5 separate regions of the Homo sapiens genome follow, and regions 1, 2, 3 and 4 are each linked to region 5. Evidence: promoter capture Hi-C in 16 types of primary human blood cells and fetal thymus (Javierre and others, 2016). All regions are on one chromosome and are shown on one strand. Each heading gives the region's core, a stretch centred on a gene start or on the middle of the fragment in contact. The rest is flanking DNA. Distances are from core to core; before and after follow the strand shown.

What was found. Contacts are between HindIII fragments. The CHiCAGO score rates a contact against its expected background, and 5 or more counts as called.
Region 1: a fragment that was not itself captured here is called in contact with the fragment with the promoter of SDAD1 in region 5 in 1 of 17 cell types (activated CD4 T cells); the score reaches 5.1 in activated CD4 T cells.
Region 2: a contact is called between a fragment that was not itself captured here and the fragment with the promoter of SDAD1 in region 5, in 1 of 17 cell types (total CD8 T cells). The highest score is 8.9, in total CD8 T cells.
Region 3: a fragment that was not itself captured here is called in contact with the fragment with the promoter of SDAD1 in region 5 in 7 of 17 cell types (total CD4 T cells, activated CD4 T cells, fetal thymus and 4 more); the score reaches 8.4 in total CD4 T cells.
Region 4: a contact is called between the fragment with the promoter of CDKL2 here and the fragment with the promoter of SDAD1 in region 5, in 5 of 17 cell types (naive CD4 T cells, fetal thymus, non-activated CD4 T cells and 2 more). The highest score is 7.1, in naive CD4 T cells.

Annotation. Positions count from the first base shown.
Region 1 is chr4:75,647,496-75,653,021 of GRCh38, forward strand. G3BP2 (G3BP stress granule assembly factor 2) reads right to left here. Exons shown (of 12, transcript NM_203505.3): 9 at 1,144-1,246. Among named protein-coding and RNA genes, the nearest start is that of CDKL2, 20 kb to the left of the region's middle. The HindIII fragment of the contact is 1,397 bases long and covers 2,950-4,346 here.
Region 2 is chr4:75,488,761-75,493,737 of GRCh38, forward strand. It overlaps RCHY1 (ring finger and CHY zinc finger domain containing 1), which reads right to left. Exons shown (of 9, transcript NM_015436.4): 5 at 3,129-3,173; 6 at 2,964-3,022; 7 at 2,851-2,877; 8 at 1,821-1,941. Among named protein-coding and RNA genes, the nearest start is that of RCHY1, 23 kb to the right of the region's middle. The HindIII fragment of the contact is 819 bases long and covers 3,204-4,022 here.
Region 3 is chr4:75,506,740-75,512,391 of GRCh38, forward strand. RCHY1 (ring finger and CHY zinc finger domain containing 1) reads right to left here. Exons shown (of 9, transcript NM_015436.4): 2 at 2,438-2,557; 3 at 2,081-2,196. Among named protein-coding and RNA genes, the nearest start is that of RCHY1, 4.8 kb to the right of the region's middle. The HindIII fragment of the contact is 2,019 bases long and covers 2,538-4,556 here.
Region 4 is chr4:75,628,896-75,633,852 of GRCh38, forward strand. CDKL2 (cyclin dependent kinase like 2) reads right to left here and starts at 1,633. Exons shown (of 14, transcript NM_001330724.2): 1 at 1,147-1,633. The HindIII fragment of the contact is 1,829 bases long and covers 1,123-2,951 here.
Region 5 is chr4:75,988,126-75,993,454 of GRCh38, forward strand. It overlaps SDAD1 (SDA1 domain containing 1), which reads right to left and starts at 2,820. Exons shown (of 22, transcript NM_018115.4): 1 at 2,627-2,820. The coding sequence starts at 2,716. The region is part of intron 1 of SDAD1-AS1 (SDAD1 antisense RNA 1); the gene reads left to right. The HindIII fragment of the contact is 958 bases long and covers 2,691-3,648 here.

The DNA.
Region 1 (5,526 bases), core at 2,398-4,897, 340 kb before region 5:
CTTACTAAATATTTGCTTAGTTTTTTGAAATTCAAAATTCTTTGGCTTTATGACATTACAGCAATCAGTAAATTTTAACAGCAATCATCACATTTATGCAGTCTATACATATTAAGTGTGTATGTATATAGATATACATAAAATCTTATTTGATTCTCCCAATAACACAAGGAACACAGTGAGGAAAATAGGCAATACAAGAATAATTTGTGTAATATTTGACATAAAAGAAGCTCAGAATTTAAGGGTTTCACTCAAGATCCCAAGTTTAATCACTGACAAATTTAGGACTTCTAGTTTGGTAACATATCACTTTAAAAATTCACATTGTAAATGTGATATATACTATCTCCATCTCTCCCATCTCCTCCCCAAAGCAATCTAAACATTCTTACAGAGTTCAAATAAAAGTATTACATGTGTAGCTAACAAGGTAAACAAGTCAAAAATCATGGCAACTTACTTAATACCTAAGAATCAAAATGGGCTTATTGTTTATCTGTAAAGAGATAAGACTGCTAAGAGAGTAGGTTATTGGCAGCTTGGTTTTGAACTCTTAAAACCAGTGACTAGGCCGGGCACAGTGGCTCATGCCTGTAATCCCAGCACTTTGGGAGGACGAGTAGGGCAGATCATGAGGTCAGCAGATCGAGACCATCTTGGCCAACATGGTGAAACCCTGTCTCTACTAAAATACAGAAAATTAGCTGGGCCTGGTGGCGTGTGCCTGTAATCCCAGCTACTTGGGAGGCTGAGGCAAGGGAATCATTTGAACCCGGGAGACAGAGGTTGCAGTGAGCTGAGATCACGCCATTGTACTCCAGCCTGGCGACAGAGCAAGACTCCGTCTCAAAAAAAAAACAAACAAACAAAAAAAAAAAACAAAAAACCGTGACAATAACCAAATAAGACTTAAGTCTTTTACACCTTCAAAATATGTCACCATGGCATGTCAACCAATCCTCCCTAAAAATTGGTTATTTGGCCCCAGACACTATTTAGCAGGTTGCTCACATCACATCTTTAAGCAATTTGAGACTATATGGGTCTGTGTATAGAACGCATCATAGTTTTTTGTTTAAGTTCAGTCTTTTACAGCCTTACAAATGTTAAATGCTAAAGGCTATAAAGGAGCTGACTCACCTGGTCTTGGTCCTCTAGGAGGAAAACCAGGTCGTTCTCTAGGTCGTTGTTCACGCACACGAGGTGGCTGAGATTGAACTTCTGGTTTAGCTTCGACTCTTGGCTAAAATATAAAGAAAAAAAAACATTATAAAAAACACTCCACTGGAGAAAAACCAACCAAAGCACCTAACGACAAGTCACTAGCAGACATAACAGTAGTTTTAAGTTTAGAATGTTTTTAACATAGTGTCCTATGTATGAGAAAAATAAATTTTTATCAAGATATTCTGTACCAATCTAGGACTGTAGGTAGCTTTTGTTTTCCCACTTAATGCTGTGTAACTCACAATAAGTTGCTTTTTACAGTCACATTTTTTCATTAAAGTTATATCAACACTGAAATAGCATAAAAGGTATTGCTACCAAAAAAAAAAATCACAAAAATGCAAGATGAACCACTCCATGTAAATACATAAACAAAATTAAAAGCCATCTTCATCTTAGACAAGAATACATAACACATAATTTCTGAAAATCTAATTTGCTATCCTTCAAATGTAACAGTGCTCAGTAGTATTGCCTAAATCTCTGCCCATAACCTTAAAATCAGTATTTTTATAGTTCAAAGTATAAAAATTAGCTTGCTCTAACACCTGAAATTGCTACCTGTAAGGTTAAAATGCATGTTAAAAAAATGACAGAAACTTATAGGAACTTGTATGTAGCATCTCAAATAGTTAAAGTCCTTTAGCTCCCTACTGTTCTTCCTTATGAGAAAAATATGCATTTGAAGTATTGGTCCCAACGATTTTCCTTAACTAGGGGTCTGGGAGTAATAGGACAGTTTAAGATGCCTCCCAAAAGTTTCTGCCAACTGCTGAATTAAACATATAATTATTTTTAAAACAAAATTACATCGGCGTCTGCTATTACCTTTTCCTCAAGACAACAGCATTTTCAGTATTCCCAACCTCTTCAGACCTTCTACTACCCAAATATTTATGGTCCAAGGAGAGACAAATATATGAGCCTACAAAGGATGCTGAAAACACCCAACAGGATATGGAGAACATGTCCTCAACTCAGAAAGCTAGTAATTTCAGTCCCATCTTTAAAGATGGTCATCTCCATGTAATCCCAGCACTTTGGGAGGCCAAGCTGCGCGGATCACCTGAGGTCAGGAGTTTGAGACCAGCCTGCCCAATATGGCGAAACCCAGTCTCTACTAAAAATACAAAAAATTAGCTGGGTGTGGTGGCAGGCACCTGTAACCCCAGCTACTTGGGAGGCTGAGGCAGGAGAATCGCTTGAACCCGGAAGACGGAGGTTGCAGTGAGCCAAGATCACGCCACTGCACTCCAGCCTGGGCAACAAGAGTGAAACTCCTTCTCACAGAAATAAATAAGTAAATAAATAAAAAAGTGGTCATCTCTGAGGACCTCAGTCCATGCAGCGGCTCAAACTCTTTAATCATTTATATAACAGATATTGTAATTTACAAGGACAAATTCTGACACAAAAATGCTTCCTTCAGCCAGGCACAGTAGCTCATGCCTATCACCCCAGCACTTTGGGAGGCCGAGGCGGGCAGATCACCTGAGGTCGGGAGTTCGAGACCAGCCTGACTAACATGGAGAAACCCTGTCTCTACTAAAAATACAAAATCAGCCGGGTGTGGTGGCACATGCCTGTAATCCCAGCTACTAGGGAGGCTGAGGCAGGAGAATCACTTGAACCTGGGAGGCGGAGGTTGCGTGAGCAGATCATTGTACTCCAGCCTGGGCAACAAGAGAGAAACTCCATCTCAAAAAAAAAAAAAAAAAAAGCTTCTTTCAAAAATGACAATTTAATGTAAATGATTTCAGCCACTGTAACCAAAAGGAATATTAACTCCTATGCTAACAGTTTAACCAAGTTTGCCTGCCTCTTCCTAAATTCTGTTTTCCTCTATGTCAATGTCCTATTTCCCTCAAGATGAAGTTGCTTACCATATTCTAGAATTCTACTAGTTATAAAATGAATATTTTTAACTCTCTCCAGGTTTTGTTGTTATTTATATGTATTTACTCCTATAAAGTCTGTATCTTTTATTTTTTTAGAGAGACACAGTCTTACTCTATTGCCCAGGCTGGAGTGCAGTGGCACAATCATAGCTCACTGTAACCTCAAATTCCTAGGCTCAAGTGATCCTCCTGCCTCAGCCTCCCAAGCAGCTGAGACTACAGGCACGCCAGTGCCCAAGGCCCATATCTTAACTTACTTTTACATCACCCAAAGAACCAAGCACAGTGCTATTAGACACAGATGTTCAGTAACTATTTGTTCATTTAAATTAAATTACATTTTTAGTTCTCTGACCCAAAACATGCAGGATAATGTTCTATGTCTGACAAAGATACGTAAGTGACAGCCCTGAGACCACCGCTATCTGTATTTGGGGTTTAATTCTATATAATAATTTGATGCAAAATGTGATGCTGAAAAAGGCAGTTATTTAGAAACTTCAACTAAGGGGGTCTAAAGGCATACTTCAGTATGAATATAAACAGAATTAGAGAATAAACGTACTCTGTCAAAGTTTAATAAAGTGAGTGTATTACTGGCAATTAATAAAAACACTAAATGCACCTTTATTACAAAATTTAAGAAAAACCTTAGACTCATTCAATCCAAATGTTATCAAAGAACTTGAGGCCCTGGTCTTGACTGATTTAAATTCTTTTCAAAACAGATTATCAAAACACGAGTAACTACAAGTAGCAAAATAAAGTTCTTCCTTATTCTTTAAGGATGAAAATTAAAAACAGATAAAGTTAAATATTAATAATTTCCAACATCTTACAAATAATTCATGCCATTGATTTAGGAATCTGACTTTAAGTAGATATCTGATGATGCCAGTTTAAGAAAAATACAAGAACAAAAAGCTAACACTGTCCCTTTCAGTAACTGATTGACATATGTTAACTAAGTCAGCTGCATACTTATAATTCTTCAGGTCTCCAGTTTCATGATTAAAACTAGTTTTTCTGAACAGATAACATGGCCAATATGCCACACAGTAGAGGGCCTTAAAATTAATTCCATGCAACCAGAAAGTATGATCAAATGACAAACCCACAAATGAAGGTCAAACAGAATATGAAGTAAGTACAGAACCATCAAATCAAGTCAATAAAAGCAGGTATAACCACAAATAATAAGCCCTTCAATTAAACATAAGCTTTGTAGGTGAACTAGTCAATTTCCAGACAAAATATTTTATTCAAGAAATTAACTTACCTACTTCTAAGTTAATGCCTACCAATACCCTGGAATTAACTTCCTTTTATCAATAATCTATGTTCAAAGTACAAGGAAATGAATACTACACAAAAGTAACAAACTAAAATTGAAGGATTATTAAATCAAGTAGAAATATCATGAATCCATTTTAAGTATAGCCTAAAGACATTAGAACGTTCTTTTAAAGTTTAAATTCTAAACATTTAAAATTTTTGTTTTATTAAAGGGGTGGCATAGGAAATACAACTTCATTTCCTACAACTAACTTTGAAAATATATTTAAGGCAAACTACTTGAGATAAATATGAAGGTATTTTTCTGGGCAAGAGACTAGGATTTAATCAGGCATGTCTTAAGAGTCCTCTTTGATGCAAATACAGATAAGATACATGACTCTGCAGCAAGGTGCTGGAGAATTGCATAAGGTTTACATGAGGCTGGGCGCAGTGGCTCATGCCTGTAATCCCCACCGTTTGGGAGGCCAATGCGGGTGGATCACTTGGGTCAGGAGTTTGAGACCAGCCTGGTCTACATGGTGAAACCCCGTCTCTACTAAATATACAAAAATTAGCCAGGCGTGGTGGCGGGCACCTACAATCCCAGCTATTCGGGAGGCTGAGGCAGGAGAATCACTTGAGCTGGGGAGGTGGAGGTTGCAGTGAGCTAAGATAACGCCACTGCCACTACCACTGCACTCCAGCCTGGGCGACAGAGCGAGACTCTGTCTCAAAAAAATAAACGTTTACATGAGCCACATATGGACTCATGTCCCACTGCATGACTTCAAAGCCCAACCCTACTATGTACATAAATGTCTGTGAGTTACTCTAGACCTCAATTTTTTGATCTCTAAAACAGAAACAATAGTACCCACCCTGACAGGGTGGTTGTGAGGATTCACTGAAAATGAACAAAAAGTGCTTCACACAATGCTTGGCGCATATCAAAGGCATAAGCACTAGCTATTTTAACTTTTAACTGTTTAAACTCTCTGAAATGAAATAATCCAAAGGTTCCAAATCCAAATCTGATAGGAAATGAAGATTCCAAAAGAAGGGCCAAAAGTTATTTATTGGGTCTTCATATGGGTAGAAAAGCACAAAACAATACTGCACA
Region 2 (4,977 bases), core at 2,363-4,862, 500 kb before region 5:
AAAGCTTCCATTATTAAAAGTTCTGCATTCCAGCCAGGCAAGGTGGCTCATCACTCCTATAATCCCAGCACTTTGGGAGACCGAGGCGGGTGGATCACGAGGTCAGGAGTTCAAGACCAGCCTGGCCAACATGGCGAAACACCGACTCTACTAAAAATACAAAAATTAGCCAGGTGTGGTGGCGGGCACCTGTAATCCCAGCTACTTGGGAGGCTGAGGCAGGAGAATCGCTTGAACCCTGGAGGCAGAGGTTGCAGTGAGCCGAGATTGTGCCACTGCACTCCAGGCTGCACAACAAGAGCAAGACTCTGTCTAAAACAAACAAAAAAAAAAAGTCTGCATTCCATGGCTCATCATGGAAAAGATAAAATATTCCAAATTTTACATGTATATATAAAATTTATATATATTGCTAAATTGCTAAAATAATTTATGACCAATGTTTGCTTTGTCGAAACCATAATCCTGGGAAGACAATCAAAACTTCACGTACATTTCTGCTACCTGATGGGCCATTTAAGTATTTATAGAAGGATTACATTCAATTGTCATTTTGAATGCATGTTTTCTGGTTGTATAGAAGGTATCCCATGCAAGAGGGTTAACTCTATTACAGTACCTAAAAGGTTATTATAAAATGTGTTTCTCTCATGGGACATTCCTAGAGAAATCTCCAGTGACACAGGTACTTATTTCACTGGATAAGTTGTAAAATAGTTAAATAAGATACTACAGATACAATAGCATTAGGCAAAACTAACTGAATTGACTGGATTGCCTTGGTCAAAGATATTGCAGATTGATGGTAATCAGATCCCCTTGGAGTGGAAAACGTAAGTTGACCCCTTACGAAATAATCACTGGAAGGCCTGTATACCTAATAATAAATAGAATCTCATGTATCTTCCACTACCAAACTCTGATATGACTAAATGCCGCAAGGCTTTTATGCATTATGCCAAAGTGTATTTTCACCAAGTAAAGAAAATTTTGATGGTCCAATGACTAAGAACAATCAAACCCTTCACAATCTAGAATCTGGAGACTGGGTCTCTGAGAACAACATCAGAGAAAGACTGCCTTTTCCACCTACACTAAAGCTTCTGGACTTTGAACTTAGGTTCATTATCTCACATTTCAGAAGGGACCCTCCACACTCTTGGAAGTGGACACCCATGAGAGACCTTAAGACAAAGTTAACCAGGAAAGTTTCTCCCCAGAAGCAAGCAGCATTTTAGTGTGGACAGTTTTTTCCCAAGATCATGAATCAAGACTTCTCTGTAATTATGACTCTTATCTCTCAATTTGTTCCTTGCTTATGATTCTGTGAACAACAGAAGTGAAAAAGGGGTCTCCTGTGTGCACTCCATAAAAATAAGTCTAAGATGGAATAAAAAGGGTAATAAACACTAAAAACCAAAACGTAATCTCAAAAATCAGCAAATATGTTCTCCTGAAATAAAATGTAAAATAATTAAAAATAAAATGTACTTAAAAAGTCCCACCAGTGATCCAACCCTAGTCAGTTATATTACTGACTGACTCTGGCAAGTAATATGTAAACAATTCAGAATGAAGTTTTTGCCTGCCATCTAGTGTTGGGAAAAACTACATAAAGGTATTCTTAAGACTTTTTTTTTCCCGATCTGAGCTACTTAACTAAAATTTAAAAATCATTTTGTGCTTTCCATTAATCATCACATTAGCATCTGTGTCAAACCAGTATATATATATTTTTTTTTTGGCAAATTCAAGCAGGAGGGCAAAAATAAGAGTGCCAACAAGGAGTCTACAAAGTTTTAAGTATTGATTCTACTCACATCCACAGTCATGTTCTGATATTCTGATGGCATAGGAGTCTGTGCTACTTCATCATCCAGCTGTCTCCAATACCTGGTCATATCTAAAGCAGAGTGCATACATAATGGACATCTGTAGCCTCTGAAAGAGATAGAAAGGTTATTTTCCAAATATTAAACAAGAATATATTAATTCAGGTATACAAGAAGATGCAGGCTAACTGCCACATGAACCATTCAAAACAGGCATTTTCCTCCATTTCAAGATAATCTCTTAGGAACCTGGGAACTTTCACACTATAAAACTTTTAAATTAATTCCTGTATACTTATTTAAAACTAAGTCTTTTTCCTCAGTACTCTAAAATGGAGAGGAATTAGTCCATATTCTTTGTAGAATACACTTCATATATTTTTATAAACTAATTAAGCTACTCCTTATCTAAACAACCTTAATTTCTTAATACACTCATGTAAAGAGACTGTATTTGTTTAAAATTATTCAGATATTATTTCCTTTCTAAAAATTTGAAAAAAAGAATGCTCTCTCTAGCTCTTCACATTTTTGCTCATCAATATGTAGGACCAAAATACAGTCTTCTCTTTTCAATTATTTTCATCTAATTTTAATATCTTTTCCATTAATAAAGTCTTAGCTTTAATGATCACTTCACCTACTTTCTTTTAGTTTACTATACTTGGCCAATATAACAACCTAACAAATTTTTGGCAATATTTTTCAGCATTTTTACAACACTATAACTGCATCTGGCAAAAACTGCACTTCCTGGTATATATGGCCAGAAAAAAAAGAGGTAACTACCTCAAATTGTGGGAGGAGACAAGATTTAAGAGAAACATATGGCAAAAGTGTAGTTCTATATCCAAGACACTTTGTCCTGTTTTAACAATATTCATCTACCCTACCCATTTCAATATAAATATTGCCATGCCCAATATAGTATAAGTAACAATGTTTGTCCACCTCCCCACACCACACACACAAAAAAGTCAAACATCTTACAATTATTTTTAAAATCCCAAACACTCACTCTTTCAACATTTCTTCATAACACGTTCTGAAAGAAAATATAAGATTATTTTAGTAAAACAAAAACTGTCTCCACTATTTTCAAACATCATTGAGAAAAAGATGTTACTTTACCTATGTAAAAGATGTCCACATGGCAAGACATGAGCAACAACACGGGATGTGTGAATGTCCTGTAAATGAAATAAATGTTAGTGCTTGTATGAAGACAATATAAACATCCAAGTATTTTAAATTCAAGAGCTGAGACTTCCAAAGTAAAAAATATTTTAAGCCTACCTCCAAACATATTGGACAATTCTGTCGGGACACATTTTCAATACACTGTTTAAAAGAGAAATTCACATTAACAAAAGCTTAACTAGATTAAAATGTCAGGTATAAAAATATTAATAATAAAAATTAACAAAACCAACTTACTAAAAATAATAGCTAACATTAATATATGCTTTTTATATGTAAGAAGAGTTTTTTAATAGTTATTTAAATCTCACACTATTTCAGGCTTGGCATATTATCTGATACAATGAAAATGTCAATAAACATTATTGAGATTACCTTCATTTCACAAATAAGGAAAGTGACTTAGGAATTCAAGACACTTACCCAAGATCCAAAGATAATAAGATTTGGAACCTTTGCATATTATGTATGTTTTACTCCAAAGCCAGTGACCTAAATTAGTAAGCTCAACTTACTAATAATATTGGTAATAATAGTTCATATTATTGAAATTTACTACATGCCATGTTCAGCACAGTACCTGTATAAGATCAATTAAATCTCACAATCCTAGATGAAATAGGCTATGATTGTTATACCATTTTACAGTTAAAGCAGTGGAGGCCTAGAGAAGCTAAGGAACTTCCAAAGTCACACATTAATAAGAGGCAGAATTAAACTGGAGCTCCAGCAGGCTAACTTCAGAGCCAGAGTTCTTAATTTGACAAGATGTAATGTCTGATTAAATCCAAGGAGGTAAGGGAAAGCACTGTGCCATGGAAGACTCCCAGGTTTTTAACGGAAGCACTTAATAGATGGCAGGACCACTTAGTAATATAGACAATAAAAGATAACTGAAAAACAACATAACAAAAAAAACCATAACAAAAAAATAGATGTAAGTTTTTGAAAGATGACAGTATAGTGGGGAGAAAAACCCTCAAAATAATAAGCTTAATAGTAAGTTTAAAAATCTAGACTGTAATCCTAGCTCTGCTATTTACCAGCCCTTGAGATTTTGGACTAGCCACCACTTTAGTCTTAACGTTTCTTATTTATAAAATAAAATTAATACATATTTCATTTGATTCTAAAGTGCACCTCACACATACATTTTAACATCCCCACAATTACAACATATCTGATCATCAGTGGCATCTCTGAGTTGATGGAATGTAAATGCTGAGGTGAGGATGCAATGAATTAGTGTGTGCACACACACTACACATGCTTTGGAAACCAGAACATCATAGAAATGTAATCTATAAGATACTATTGACTCCTGGCTATCTCCATTAGCATAGCTTGCCATCACCCCAAACTCAAGTTTAAAAACCAAACTCAATCTTTTATCTTCAAAAAATTTACAATCTACTAATCAAGTACCTTAAGCTGGGGCTGAAAATCTTCAGAGTCATCTTTACTCTGCCTCATTCTTTTTCCTTAATACCATTACCACATCATATATGTTCATTATTCATCTCAATTTTCCTCACCACTTTACTATTTAGGCCAAGTTCTAGCTAATATTATATTTCTGCAATAACTTCTTATTCTTATATTCTATCGAACCTACTATACTGCTAAGTAAATGATTTCAAACAGTCTCTTTCCAATTAATGTCTATCTGTCTCTCTCTCTCTCAACAGCTACAATGTTGCTACTTATACTGTTCTGCCTTATCTGGAATTTCCTATACTTGAACAAGTACGATTTACACTTCACTTTACACCAATCCTCCATTCTCTTAATTAAATTCTTACAGTAGATAGAATCAGTACTATAATGTAATACTTTATTAGATTTTTTTTTAAATAATGAAAAAGGGCCTGGGATTGTGACATAATTCCTACATCCAGATTTAAAATATGTATGTCTTAATTATAAAAAGAAATAGTAAAATATT
Region 3 (5,652 bases), core at 2,297-4,796, 480 kb before region 5:
GGCCAAAAATATTTCAAAATTGACAGAAGACATCAAGCCACAGATTCAACAAATGCTACAAACCCCAAGCCAGATAAATATTACACTCAATCAAACCTGGACACACGGAAAAAATACTAACAACCAATGACTTAAAAAACAGCGAGAGGAGGATAAAAGACATTTTAACTTCAAAGAAGCAATAATAATCCTGAGAAATGATATTTTTAAACAGAAACCATGGAATCAGAATATCTTTAAAGTGTTGGGAGGTCAGGGGAACCAATACCTGTAAACTTAGAATTCTACACCCAGCAAAAATATTCAAAAATGGAGGCAAAAAAAAGACATTTTTCAGAGACAAAAAAAACTGAGAGAATGTATCATCAGCAGGACCTCACTAAAAGAAACACTAAAGACAATTCTTTAAGCAGAAGAAAAGTAACTCCAAAGATAATGCTGGAGACCTACAGGAAAGAAGGGCAATAGAAACGGTAAATATATAACAACAATAGCATATAAAGACTCTTAGTGTTTAAGGTCCTAATATTGTCCAAGAAGTGATAAACATATTATTCTAGTAAGCCAATGATGTATGTTATAATTTCTAGGATAACCACTAAGAAAATAATTGAAAAATGTATAACTAACAAGCCTATAGAGAATAAAAGCAAATAGGAAAGCAACAGATTAATCCAAAGAAGACAAGAAAGGAGAGGAAAAAAGACAAATACTAAGGCAATAGAAACTACCAAAACTGTAGATTGAAACACGAACATATCCTAACTACCTTAATAAAAAACGAACTATATACTCCAATTAAAAGACAGTTTTATCAAACTGGATTGAAAAATTAAAATTCAACTATATGCTGTTTTACAAGACACATGACTTAAATGTAAGTATACAAAAATGTCTAAATGGAAAAGGATATACATGCAAAAACTCATCGAAAGAAAGCTGATATAGATACAGTAGAGCCTAGGGCAGGAAACATTACTAAAGATAAAAAGACACATTATATAATAATAAATGGGTCAATCATACAGGAAAATGTAATAATTTTAAGTATGTGACCGCTGAAAGACATGGCCTTAAAACATACAAAACAAAACACAAAAGAGCATATACTATATGATTCCATTCATTAAAAACTTCCAAAAGTCAGCATACTGGTTACCTTTGGGGAAGTGTATTAATTTGGAGGGGGCACACAGGAAGCTATGAAGGTGCTATGAATGTTGTGTTTCTTGATCTGGGTAGTGGTTACAAAGGCATGTTCATTTGTTAAAATTCATAAAATCATTTGCTTATAATTTCTGTTATCTTTTGGTAGGTTGGTTATCCTTCCTTAAAAACAAACTATATTTTAAAAAAACAAAAAAAACAAAAAAAAAGCAAGAAAGTGATTTAAAATATTCAAGACAGTGATTACCTCCAGCAGGGACAAGAAGAAAGGACTGAACACGGAACACCTTGGGCTTTGACAGTATTGGTAACATTCCTTTCCTAAACTCGGTGGCTTATTCACTGTACTGTACTTTAGACACACTTTACATACATGCTTTAATATACATCTAAAATACTCGAGATTTTTAAGAAAGAAAATAATTCCTTATACACCGACATGTCAACAGTAGCTTGTCTGTGGTTAGGCTCTGGTTATTTTATTTTTATTATTTCTACTTTTCTGTTTTTTCCAATTTTTATAAAATCACCTGTATTTCTTGATAATTTTTTAAATACTAATTTTTACAAAGGAAAAATTTATCCCAATTCTCTACCTCAGTTGCCCATAAAACACTTTATATAAAACATATTTTATAATCCAAAGGTAAAATTCTAAATAGTTATACAATAATTGATGGGTAAATTAAATTATTAACAAATTATGAATAAACTTTTTAGAATGGATATGTTCTATAGCTTGATTGTGCTGATAGTAAAAGAGATACCGGTATTTATCAAAACTCACTTAATTGGACACTTAAAATGAATGTATCTTATCAGATGTAAATTACACCTTAATAAAGTTGATTTTAAAAACTATTATTGCATATACATTAGAAGCAATTAGATAAGAACACTTTACATACAGTACCTACAAATTCCACAGTTTTCACAGTGATACTGCTTCTTATCTTTGTCAAACAAATGGCATATATCGCAATAATATTCTCCAAACAATGTGCTACATTCTTCACAAGTCTGTTGGGCCTAAAAAAGAAACATAATTAAAAACTGCAATAAACTAAACATTTTGAGTTACCATTTGAATATCTAGAACTTATGTTCAACTATATGCAGTTTATTTTTATAAGTTTTGAAACACCTAAACCAAAGATATTGCTTATTCTAGAAGTTAAAGAAATCTTATTTATGATACTTTTGATTAAATTTTTTCAAACCACCTTAATACAGCTTTTAAAAAGAAAATAGAAATGTCATAAAATCTTACATGTTGAATTTTTTCACAGTTTATGCACTGCACTTCCTTCACTTTAAAGCGATCTAGTTGATGATCTTCATTGTTATCATGACACAAGCGGCAAGTATAAAGCTTGTCACAGCAAGGTGCCTAACACCCACGGAGAAAAAAGAGATATAGTAAGAAGCAAAAGAAACTAAGTGTGCAATACAAAAAGAAAATTTCTTCCTCCTCCTCCTGGATGGAACTGAAAGATTACAACCAATAGATCAGTTGCTAAACTGATCCTAAACATAACATTTCACTAGTTTCTTGGCATATTTTATGTTAATTCTTCCCTTCAACATCACTACGTCTGTATGAAGTTGAACACAACTTTAAAACAAAAGAATTATGAAGGAAATCCCTAGATTGAAACACTAATCCCACAACACCTGATATGCTTTGGCTGTGTTCCCACCCAAATCTCAACTTGAAATGTATCTCCCAGAATTCCCACGTGTTGTGGGAGGGACTTAGAAGGAGGTAACTGAATCATGGGGGCCAGACTCTCCCGTGCCATTCTCGTGATAATGAATAAAATCTCATGAGATCTGATGGGTTTATCAGGAGTTTCCACTTTTGCTTCTTCCTCATTTTCTATTGCCACCACCATGTAAGAAGTGCCTTTTGTCTCCCGCCATGATTCTCAGGCCTCCCTAGCCATGTGGAACTGTAAGTCCAATTAAACCTCTTTTTCTTCCCAGTCTTGGGTATGTCTTTATCAGCAGTGTGAAAACAGACTAATATAACACCCCAATTTCATTCTGAGCCTAAACAGCAAACAGGCAACCTCTTCTTAGACATTTCCAGATAAATTCATTTACATTAAAAATAATAAAGATTATATTCTTATTTTACTAGCTTTTATTAATCATCAACCTCATATCTAATATTGCACAAAATGCAACAAATGTAAGAGACAGCCCTTGTTTTCAAACACGGCAAAGACTGCCAGTTGTCCACCAAAATCTATCCTCTCCTTCCTGGGCACAATTGTTCAGCTATATCAGACAGATGGCCACATGCCCTAAAACATGACAAAATGATACAACAGAAAAATCTCATCCCTGGAGTGACCATGTGGAGCAAAGCCTCATCACCAACCTGCATCACTCGCCTTGGAATTGTTAAATGGAAAGAAATAAAACCTTTACTCTTTAATCTACATCACTGTTGGGTTTTTTCATTACAGCAACTTTACCATTACAAGTATATCAAGAGATTTCCAGGCCAGTGACTTTCCAATACACTGTGACCTTGCAGATCCACTCATTTCTGAAGGCTTCCTATGCCTTGACTTACCATAACGTAGTTCATTCCTTAAAGATTTTAACACTTAACTGGCTTCCTTTTTCTGCAACTCTCAGTTCCTTAACTTTGTCATTTCCAATAACCTTGTCCTCCAACCCACTATTCTCATAGTTATACCGCAGAACAGTAGTTCTCAAATGGTTTGGTCTCAGGATCCCTTCACACTTTTTAAAATTACTGAGAATCCCAAAGAGCTTTGGTTTATGTGGATTTTATCTATTGACATATACCACATCATAAATTAAAAAGAATAGGTTTTTAAAATATTACTTCTTTTTAAAAGTAACAAACTCATTACTTGTTAACATAAATAACATGTTTTAATGAAAAATAACTATATTTTTCCCCCCAAACAGCTGAATTCTTCTATCTGCTTATGCATTCAAACAGTTGTGGCTGAAGTACAAAAAGAAACTCTGGCCTCACACAAATATGTACACTGGAAAAGAAAGGAGTATTTTAATAGCCTTTTTGGAGAATTATGGATATCATTCTCTGATATTACACTAGAACAACAACTCTTAAAGGGTAGTTGCAACATGAAATCTGAAATCGTATCAAGGAATATGATTGATATGATGCCTCTTTTCTTCCTTGGTTACATTAAAATCTATTGCTCTATCTTGCACTTCAAATGGATGTTTTACTCATGCATTGGTCATCTGGAGAATACCAGTTCAGTGAGTTATTTACATCTTCTAAATGTTCACACATTTAACATGCAATATCAAAAAATCATATTCATTAAAAGTCTTTAGGTATTGAAGAAAATCTCACCAAAAAAAGTCTTTTAAAAAGCTTCCAACCTCACAAAAGCTAGTAAAAGTTTTCCAAAATTCTAATTTTTGTGTGAAAGCTTGAATTTTATCACTGGCAACAAATACTGTCATTTTCATTTGTAGTGAGTCTCACTTTTCTCCTTTTTGAGAAAATGTCTGCCAACTACCCAAATGTGAATGACTACAATTTTTTCAAGTAAAAAATGCTGTTCCATGAAAAAAAGCAACTAGTTCACTTTACAATCCAATTTGCACAAGAGCTTTTCCTCAAGACAACCCTCTAATTTCAGTTTGCAGAAGTGTTTGATCAAAACTTCCCATGTCATTGAACAGCATATTAAAAGATATATTCAAGGGTTGAGATTTGGTTAAAATTAACGATTTTACTGCTTTATCAACATTTTTAAGTGAAGCTGGCTTTTTAAAAAAACTATAGGTGTAGTATAGTTCAGTGCCACTGTCTTGATTCAAGCTAAGATACTAGCAATACTAAACAGTGCTTTTCCACCATCAATGCGTGTGTCAACAGACTGAAAAAAAAAAAAAACAAATATCTTAGTGTTCATAGAAAGTAGTTTTGGCCTTGCAGAGCCCCTGAAAGGACTTCAGGAATCCCCAGGGTTCCATTCACCACACTTTGAAAACCAATGCTACAGAACAACGGCACCCTCTTTGCATCTCAATTCCAAGCATGAAATTCTCTAACCATTACCTCCTCCCTAACTTACTCCAAGTCTCCCCTTGCAACACCCTAGTTCCCTTCTCAGTTCCTCTACACTCATAGATAACAATCCCAACCCTAGTTAAATCCTATTTGACTTCTATCAGAAGCAGGTGAATATGGCTAGAGAAAAAGCATCACCGTCCTTGCTGGTTCATATGAGGTGGACACTTACTACCACGTTTCCCTGGTCAATTCTCTCATTCTTCCAGAGTCTAAGACCTAAGATTTAGATGATCATTTCACTTCTTCTCCTCTGGCTTTAAAACTCTAACAACTCTTCCTCCTTAACACTCTGCTGATGACCTTATTTCACTATAAAAACAGTAAACATACTTCCTGCTGACAGGCCTGAAAAGAACATCCTCCTATTATCTCTATTAACTTACTTG
Region 4 (4,957 bases), core at 383-2,882, 360 kb before region 5:
GAGGGGTGGGAAATGAAAACAATACCAATGAACATCGACTTAAATTATTATTTTACTACCAGTTTTCATAGTAGATTCTACTACAAACTTTTTACAGAGCAGTGTCCCAGACACTAACTTTCCATGCATTTGACATTTTACCTTCTATTCCACTTCCATTAACTATTTTTTAATAAACTGTTTGTATTTGAAAAAAAAAATCTCCATATAATTCTATCCCTTCTTAATTTTTTTCTCTTCCATTAAGAGAGTATGTTTTATTAAGCACTAGGCTTTAGGTTTATCATACCAATGACAAAAATAGCTTGAATCTATAACCTGGATTATTTTAAAACATTTTGTAATTGATGTCCTCAATATTTGAAAGCACAAAGTGAACCAAAAAAAATGACTTTAAGCATGTCTGAGGTGTTCTGAAGCATATCCCAAGCTAACATTAATGCAAGTTGACTGCTTCAAGTTTATTCTCCCAACCAATTGCATATCTGGACACACCACATTGAACACACCTGCTTTTTCAAGTGACACTGTCCACAAATACTTTAAAAGTATCACAGCCTACAAAGCCTCCTGTTTCCTGAAACAGTTACTCATAAACTATAACTTCTCATGCCTTCTACTCTTGAACGGAAAGGTAATACAAACGAAAAAGAAACCTGGCCAATGGGCAAGGTGTTATTTCTGGATGGTTCTAAAAGCAACAATTTTGATAAAAATATTTGGAGAATGCTAATTTTTTATTTTGTTTAAGACAGATTAAAGGGCCGGGAGCGGTGGCTCACGCCTGTAATCCCAACACTTTGGGAGGCCGAGGCGGGCGGATCACCTGAGGTTGCGAGTTCGAGACCAGCCTAACCAACATGGAGAAACCCTGTCTCTACTAAAAATACAAACTTAGCCGGGCGTGGTGGTGATGCCTGTAATCCCAGCTACTTGGGAGGCTGAGGCAGGATAATCGCTTGAACCCAGGAGGCAGAGGTTGCGGTGAGCCGAGACCATGCCATTGCACTCCAGCCTGGGCAACAAGAGTGAAACTCCGTCTCAAAAAAAAAAAAAAAAAAAAAAAAAAAAAAAAAAAAAAAAGATTGAAATCTTTTATAGATCAAAGAACGAGATAATAGAAGCTTTAAAACGTACTATACTTACCGTTTCTTCAATCCGTTCGCATAGAAAGACCCAAAGGTTTTCAACTTGGAAACAAATTTGAGGTGAAATGCATATGGTTCGCAGGTCCAAAAGATGCTGCCTAGCAAACTAGCAATTCCAGCGCTGTTGTGATTTCTTCTGCGGACGCAGTCACGAGTCCAGGGCGAAGCAGGCAGGGAGGCAGGTGGGCCTCGGTCCGCCGCAAGCTCACACTTAGGAGGACCACGGGCCGCATGCTGTCGTCGTCAAGGCAACGACCTCACTCTGTCCCCAACCATAGGCACAAAGTCTTGGGAGACAGATACGGCCCAGGTCAGAATGCGTTCACGGCAGGCACCAACACCTGTGAAGGCCAAGGGCTAGAGAGCAATTAGCTGGGTGAGAGGCACCACCTCCCAGCTCGTAAGGCGCCCAGTACCTGGAGCCTGGGAACCTGCACCGCTCCAACTACCCCTGGGCGAAGGCGTTGGCCGCGGAGCTGCAAGGGGGGGCGGTTTCTCACCCGCCCCGAGAGCGCCAGGCCTCCCTTCTTCTGATTGGCCGAGCCGAGTCGTCACGAGCCATGATTGGCTCAGGGCCAACCACCCCGCCCCTTCACCTAGGGCTCGGCCCAGGTTCTGCTCCCTGACACGCAGAGGCCCTGCGTCCCCACACGCCTTGGTTCTCGTCAGGAGGCGCCTTTCTGCCTTCCCCAGCGGGAGGAGGCGATTGTGATGCCCACGCGAAGGGTAAAGGTGGCGGTTATGTAGGACTGCGAAGACTATGCAAAATGCGATACGGTTTCCCTCATAGCATCGCCGCTGGGGCAGGGGCGGGCGCCGGGCGCCCTGAGTCGCGTAGGCGCGGCCTGACCGGGATTCCATGCTTCCTTTCTGTTCTGGGCGGTGGGGCCAGTGTGAGCCAGGTAGGAGATAACGGTGACAGTTTAGGAGGTGATGATTAGTAGGCGAGGCAAGGTGGAAGAAGGTAGGTGATGACAGACCTGACGTTAGGAGGGACCTTGGGAAGGCCAGTCTGGCCATTGAAAGTGAGGGAAAACACTGAGATGGAGGAAGGGGAAGAGAGGGCATGAGTGGAATGGGAAAGCGCTGGGATGGCTGGGGATCTGGAGGACACGCACAACACCCGCGTATGGCAGCCAAATGGGGTGGAGTTAGGGCTTGCGATAAAACTTGCCTTAAATGCAAAAATGCAGCTCAATCCACGACTGAGCAAGACTGGTAGGTCAGAATCATGCACAGGCTTAAATCACACAGGAACAGAGCTTACCCCATTTTCAAAGAATCTGAGGCAGCGAGGAGGCCATAAGGCCAGTAAAATAACACTTTCAATCATGATAACTAAATGTTCATGATCATTTTGGTCTCGAAACTACTTTGATTTAGGGAATAGAGTGTCCTGGATAGACAAATGTCTACCATATACCCTAGTCAATATTAAGGTATTAATCATTAATGTTAAGGTATTGATTCCTTCTTGTACATTAAGAAATAGACATTCTTTTTATAGTCTTTTGTGAGTTTGGTTAGTTTGCATTAATCTCCCAGTGGTTAATTACCTTGGTCAGACTGCTTAAAATCTAGTTCCTGAACCTGTAATATTGAGAACCAGACCTGAGGCCTAGTTATGGAAAGAATAGAATTATTTGGTCAATTCAAGATGTGACTCTTAGTGTAGCAATTAGCTCTGTCCTTAGCTGTGTCCAAGTTGCGAGAAGCCCTGTCCCATTTGGTACCTCTATAGGCTATAAGAGAATCTGATGAACTTCTTTTATATGGGGGTAGATTCAGTTTTGTTGGGCCTGAAGCTTAAGAACAAGAGCGCAAAACTATTTTACTTTTGCAACTTTATAATCATATTCAACCGTATAACATTTTAAGGCCCCTTCATGCAAGAGGCCTAGAAGCTTCAATAATCTATTTATATCTCACAGGGAACCAAAGGATAAAGACTGAAAATACTGGATTTGGCGAACAAGTGATGCTTTAGGAAACAATTTCAGCCAGATGCGGTGGCTCATGCCTGTAATCCTAGCACTTTGGGAGGCCAAGGCGGGCAGATCACCTGAGGTCAGGAGTTTGATACCAGCCAGGCCAACATGGTGAAACCCTGTCTCTACTAACAATACAAAAATTAGCTGGGCATGGTTGTGAACGCCTGTACTCCCAGCTACTTGGGAGACTGAAAAAAAGAAAACAAACAAACCAAAAAAAAACAATTTCAGTAAGAACTGAGTTTGAAAGCCAGTTGTAGAGGACAGAGGTTATTAAAGACTTACACATTCTGGCCATCTACAGGATTGTTAATAGAGAAGGTATTATGTAGAAACAGGATTGTGTTACTATTTTTTCTTTCTTTTCTTCTGAGGCGGAGTCTCACTCTGTTGCCCAGGCTGGAGTGCAGCAGCACGATCTTGGCTCACTGCAACCTCTGCTTCCTGGGTTCAAGCGATTCTCCTGTCTCAGCCTCCCAGGTAGCTGGGATTACAGGACCCCACCACCACGCCTGGCTAATTTTTTTCTTTTTTTAGTAGAGGCAGGTTTTCGCCATGTTGGTCAGACTGGTCTCGAACTCCTGACCTCAGTTGATCCGCCCGCCTCAGCCTCCCAAAGTGCTGGGATTACAGGCGTGACCCACCGCACCCGGCCTATTTTTTCTTTTTAAAGAGGGAAATATTTATAGGGAAAAAGAGTGGGGAGAGACCTTAAAGGGGCAAGAAAATGAATAATTAATGAAAAACCAAGGAGAGGTACTGAAGAGTAGGTAATAATATATGAGAAGGGGTTAGGCTTGAAGAGGTTTAGAGAAAATGGAAAAAACTGAGAAAAGTGTAGGGCATACACTGTGGGCCCAGGCCATCTCAGTAAAAGAACTTTATTTTTGCATAAAAAGGTAATGGTGAGATAGAGGCTTAAGGATTTGAGAGCAGAAATACGTTAGAATAGTTAAGAAGTCATTTTGATATAAAAGGAACACAAAATAGTAAAAATGTGCTCACTTGAGCCTGGGTACCATGAATTTACAGTGAACCAACTGACACTGTTGCCCAGAATTGGGCAACCCCAAAGGAAAGAATGGAGAAAATAGATGATATATAAGCTGCCTCTTTTAGAGAACTGGTAATGCAAAAAGATTAAACAAAGGAGTTAAGGAATTTCAGAACAAGGATCACTGAGAAAAAAAAAAGGAATCAAAGATGCTGAAGAAAATACCATTAAAATTGCTTGCCATGGGCTCCTGCTAAATAGGAAGATAAATTTTGACAGCAGTTAGCTAATAAACTGAAAACGGAGGCACTGAGGGTCTGGAAGTCATCATAGGCATGAATAATAAGTTTAAAGGAGCAATATAGGAGGAAAAAGTTATCAGAGAAAGCAGTTTGTGTATTCCAGATGTTGGAAATGGCACAGGATGATCAGTTCTAAAGGGTGGAGTATTTGGCTGTTCCTTGGGTAGCTGAAGTTGAGTGGAAAATGTCATTGAGTTCAAAGAAACTTGAGGTCACAGTATGAAAAATTCATTAACATGAACTACCAAGTAGGACTATAGTGGAAGAGGCTGAGAAAGACATTAATCAGTGAAGAAAGTGAAAATGTTCTAAAAATCTAAAGAAAACAGTATGGGAGTGCATGAGGTAGATGTCAAGAGAGGACAGCTTGAGAGATGGCAATGGCAATGAAATAAATGTGAAATAGATTAAGGACCATATGACCCAGCAATTCCACTTCCAGGTATTATAAGAGAAATAAAAACATGTTCACATAAAAACTTACACACAAATGCTCACAACAGCATTATTAATAACCAAAAA
Region 5 (5,329 bases), core at 1,570-4,069:
CAATAGCTTCTTATGTGGTGTCTCTGCTTCTATCTTTGCCCTCCTACATACAGTCTATCCTCAAGTAACGGTGATCTTGTTCTCATATAGGGTGGTTCATGTATTCTTCTGCTCAAAACCCTGTAAAGGCTTCCATCTCATTGGGAGGTAGAATCCCAAATTCACCCCCTTTCCTCATTCCCTATTTGGAGCCACACTGGCCTTTATGTTCCTGAAATCTACCAGGCATACCTACCCCAAGGTCTTTATACCTTCTGTTCCTTCTGCCTAGATCATTCTTCCTAAACATATGCACAGCTCTCCCTCATGTCCTTCAGGTTTTCACTCAAAGATTACTATCTCAAGAAGACCTTCCCTAACTATCCAATTTAAAACTGCAATACCCATCTCACCCCCAACATACATAAGTACTTTCCTATTGTCTTTTTTTCACAGCACTTTTCATTATTTAACATACTATATTATTTGTTACTGTATATCACCCCCTACTAGAATGTCATTTAATGAGCATAGAATTTTTATCGGTACAGCTCAATATTATGTAGTCCCAGGGCCCAGCATTGTGCCTTACATATAGCAGGTAATCAACAGTATTTGTCAAATGAACGAACTTCAGGAAATGGCACTATCATCTACCTAGACATATAAATAAAAAACCTGGGTGATCCTTCATTCCTTCTTTTTTCCTTATCCCCCACATCCACTCCACCAGAAATCCCAAGGCTCTACTAGCTCTACCTCCACGTAGAACAGCACGAATCTTTGCCCATAATTCCAATGACACCACAATCCCTTGCTTGGTTATTCTGAGATCCATTATATTAGTTACCCTGCTTCCAGTGTTGCTCCTCTACAAGCCATTCCACATGTAACTTCCAGAGTAAATTCTTAAAAAAAATATGTCAGATCATGTCACTCTCCTGCTTAAAACTCTTCAATCACTCCCCGAGGCACTCAGAGTGAAATCTAAACTCGTTAACAGGGCCTAAGAGGCTCTGAATAAGCTGACCCCTGCCTGCATTTCCTACATCATCTTCCACTGCCCTCTTCTATGCTGACTACACTTTAGCTACACTGGCTTCTTCTCTGCTTTTTTTCCACCAGTAGCTTCTGCACTTTCTATTCCTTGTACCTAAAATGATGTTTACCTGCCTGGCTCAATATCATCATTGCAGAGCCACCTTCCCTGTTTACGGGGTCTAAATCAGAAGCCTCCAATTCTAACCTATTCCCATCCAGTTTTATTTTCTTCATAATCTCTACCATAATAAGTCTACACTCACTTGAATGTAAGTCCAAGAGAAGAATGCTTTCTTATCTGTCTTATTCATTACTGTACCCCAACGCCTACCTAGAATAACAACACACAGTAGTTATATGTGATTTTGCATATATACTTAAGTGAATTAAAGAAGTAGTTATTACCCCCTTCTTACATATTAAAATACCCACATAGGCTCAGCGATTAACCTGCTTCGGTTACACAACTGGTTAACAACAGTCAGCAGCAGGAGTTATCTAACGGAATTATATAGACTCTCAACTTACCACTTTCTTTGCGAATGGCTATACAATGCTTTAAGCATCTCAAAGCCTTGCCTATGTTACTTAACTTCTTGTACTTGTTTCCTACTCTTTATTTCCACTACCTTGATCCTTGGAGAGGCTTTCTCTACTGGTGACCTAAGCCACTGAGATTGCCATGTGTTAAAAAGCACTCATAAAATACATATATGTGAAAATTTAGGGGAGGAGGGAAGTGAGAAGGGCAATGAAAAAATAAGTAATTGTGTTAGCCACTGAACAAATCACAATCTGGTAGAAGCACAAACATGTAATTGCAGCAAATGCCTAGCAGAGATACCTGTTTAATGCCCGTCTGATAAATGAGTGTCTGAAGGAAGCACCTGTCAGATTAATATATCAAAAACCACTTTCGTTTTGTCGGTACTTGGTTCAAACACCCCTAATGTTCACAACTTACATGAGGTCAGTACACAAAGCCCATCACAATGAGGGCCTAATTTTTCAACCTAATCTTTTCCCGAAGCAAATTCTGACATCCGAGTCATGCCAGTCTCCGGTAAGTTTGAATCCTGGCTTAACTAAATATACTAAGCTCCCGAGTCTGTCCGTTGTGCTTGAGAAACCCCCCCCCCCCCTTTCCTGGCACAGTCCAGGGTACACAGCCTGCTCTCAGAAACGGACGTCAATCGAAAGCATTCTAACATACGATTCATCAAAGGTTACCGACTAATTCAAGTTTGGGATTTCTGAAAAGAGGCTGAGAAATCCGCGTGGAAGTTGGTGGTTGGGTGCGGCCCATTTCTCTCTCCACTTCCGTGCGGACGAAGAAAAATATCTTAAAACAAAATGAGGTTTTAAAGGTGTTTCAGCGGCAGCAGGGCAGGTAGAAAATCCAAAGGGGCAACAGATTTTCAAGAGGTGGGGAACGAACCCTAAGGCATGTCCCGTCCCCAACCCCTTCTCTCCTCTGGAGGGACCCCTGAACCTAACAGAAGAATAGGCGGCGAGCCTGGATCCCAGCCCCACTCCATGCTTTCCCGCACCGGCGTCTCAACCATCCACTATCCGGCCTCTAGCGTCTGCCGCGCCGCACTCCCACCTCCTCGATGTAGGCCGGCGGGTCTCGCTTGATTAGATTCTGTAACTGCGGCAGGTTGCTGGGAAGCTTGTTGTTGTTTCTGTTGGACATTTTGGCTGCAGACAGACTTCGCGGCGAGCAGTTTTAAAAAAACTCAGACGGCCGGCACCCCGCAATCCCTGCCAGCTGCAGCTTGGACTCGTGTTTCCGGGTATGACCGGAAATAGCGCATGGGACTCTAGGCAGGCGACACCTTAGCGGTTCCTAAAGCGAGCTATGCTACGGAAGCCTCAGAGTGTCAAAATTACTCTCGTTGCCAAAATACTCTGTGGTGTATTGGAGAGCCAGCCACCGCCGACCCGCCCCTCGCCCTTGGGCATATGCTACTACTTAATATTGCCTTGCGTTTCTGAAAGGATCTGAAATGTAAATTTTTTCACGTGTGTTAGCATGTATCGTCATTCCGACACCCATATGAAGCACATAAATGAGGATTAATCGTTTATTTTTAATCCCGCAGTCTAAAATTAGAAACTGACGCCTGTAATCCCAGCACTTTGGGAGGCCAAGGCGGGCCTGAGGTCGGGAGTTCGAGACCGGCCTGATCCACATGGAGAAACCCCGTCTCTACTAAAATTACAAAATTAGTCGAGCGTGGTGGCGCATGCCTGTAATCCCAGCTACTAGGGAGGCTGAGGCAGGAGAATCGCTTGAACACAGGAGGCGGAGATTGCGGTAAGCCGAGATTGCACCATTTCACTCCAGCCTGGGCAACAAGAGCGAAACTCCGTATAAAAAACAAAACAAAACAAAACAAAACTGAAAAGAACCGTGGCGCTAGATAACACTATTCCCTCTTAGGAGGAAAAAAGAGCAACGAGGGTCATATAAGTTAATGTGTATGATTTTAGATATGTTTTTATTTTGGTTTTGGTTGTTTCAACTTAGCGTGACCCATACAAGGGAAAAGAGGGCTGGATAAAATGTGATCATGTTGACCATTAATAAATGCAATTAATCGTTAAAATTCAACCATCGTTATAAGCTTTGTAAGCACTCCTCAGTCAGAGTTTTTAATTCAGATCCTGGTAATTCGAAGAGGAGAATACATTTCTACAATCTCAAGGTGTAAAAAATCAATAAGGGTTGAATGAATGAGGTAGGGTGTTGTGAATTAGAGAGAGAGAAAAAAAAACCTAATTACCCACCCTGTGCCAGGCACTATTCCAAGCACTTGTATTAACTTATTTAATCCTCAGAACAACCCTCTAAAATAGGTGCTATTGTTATCTACATTTTACAGAAGAGGAAACAAGCTCAGGGAAGTTGACTGCCTCAATTCATAGCCTGTGAGGAAGATGAGATTTCAATCTAGACAGTCTTGATTGTAACTACATGAGAAAAAACATAGCCTAACAGCTGGTAGCTGGTTGCTGGTCTGGCAAAATAGCCAGACAATAGGGTTCTGCTTAACCAAAGCAATTTTATAGAACGCCAACCTCATCTGTGACGATGATAAAATGAGCCCCAAACAAAACAACTCTGTAATCACACCTGCACACAAAATAAAGAATGCTTCACAAACCATGTTATTCAGCTGCTTTTGGAGAATGACTTATTTATTAATTATCAAATCAGTTACCTGTGAAGTTAAGAAATAAATGTCAGCAATAAATCTTTTTTAAAAAGCATAGATTTAAATTAAAATTTTTTGGCTAGGTTGTTTTAGTGAGGGCAAAAAAAGTATTCTCAAAACAAAATCTGGCTAAGTGTGGTAGCTCAAGCCTGTAATCCCAGAACTTTGGGAAGCCAAGGTGGGAGAACCACTTGAGCTGGGTAGTTCAAGACTAGCCTGGGCAATATAGTGAGACCCCATCTCTACCAAAAAGTTGAAAAATCAGCCAGGCATGGTGGCACAGGCTTGTGGTCCAAGCTACTGAGGAGGCTGAAGCAAAAGGGTTGCTTGAGCCCAGGAGGTTAAGGTTGCAGTGAAGCACTGCACACCAGCCTGGGCAATACAGTGAGACCCTGTCTCAAAAAAAAAAAAAAAAGAAAAAAGACTGCGTACAGGTACTTGAAAATGTCTGGTGTATTGAAACAATAGCCATAAGTTTGGTGTGACTAAAGGCTGGGAGGGCAGGGTGCAGCAGGGAAAGAGCTGAGAAGGTTATATTGTCCTGATATGAAAGGCTTTAATTGCTATTCTAAGGAGGGCATATAGGTCAGTTCATTTTACCTCCAGCAGCATGGAAGGCAGGATTTGTTTTTGATAAATGAGAACTCTAAGACTAAGAGTGGCTAACTGAATATATATTTTTCAGATGTTAAATAATTTGGGTATCTAAGGCCAACATCTCTGCTTTCATGTGAAATTCCATCCTTTATTTTTAAAATTATAATGTATTTATTTTATAGCTTTATTAAGATATAATTGATGTACAACAAACTACCCAGTGAACAATTTGATAAGTTTTGACATATGTATGTACCCATAAAACCATCATCACAATCAAAATAATGACTATATCCATCATCCCCAAACGTTCCTTGTGCCTCATCATCCCCAGACAAACACACATCTGCTTTCTGTCACCAAAGATATGTCTGTGTTTGCTGGAATTGTATACAAATGGAATCATACAGTACCTATTATTTGAGGTCAAGGTTCTTTCACTTAGCATAATTATTTTGAAATGTATCCATGGTGTTGTATGTATCAATAGT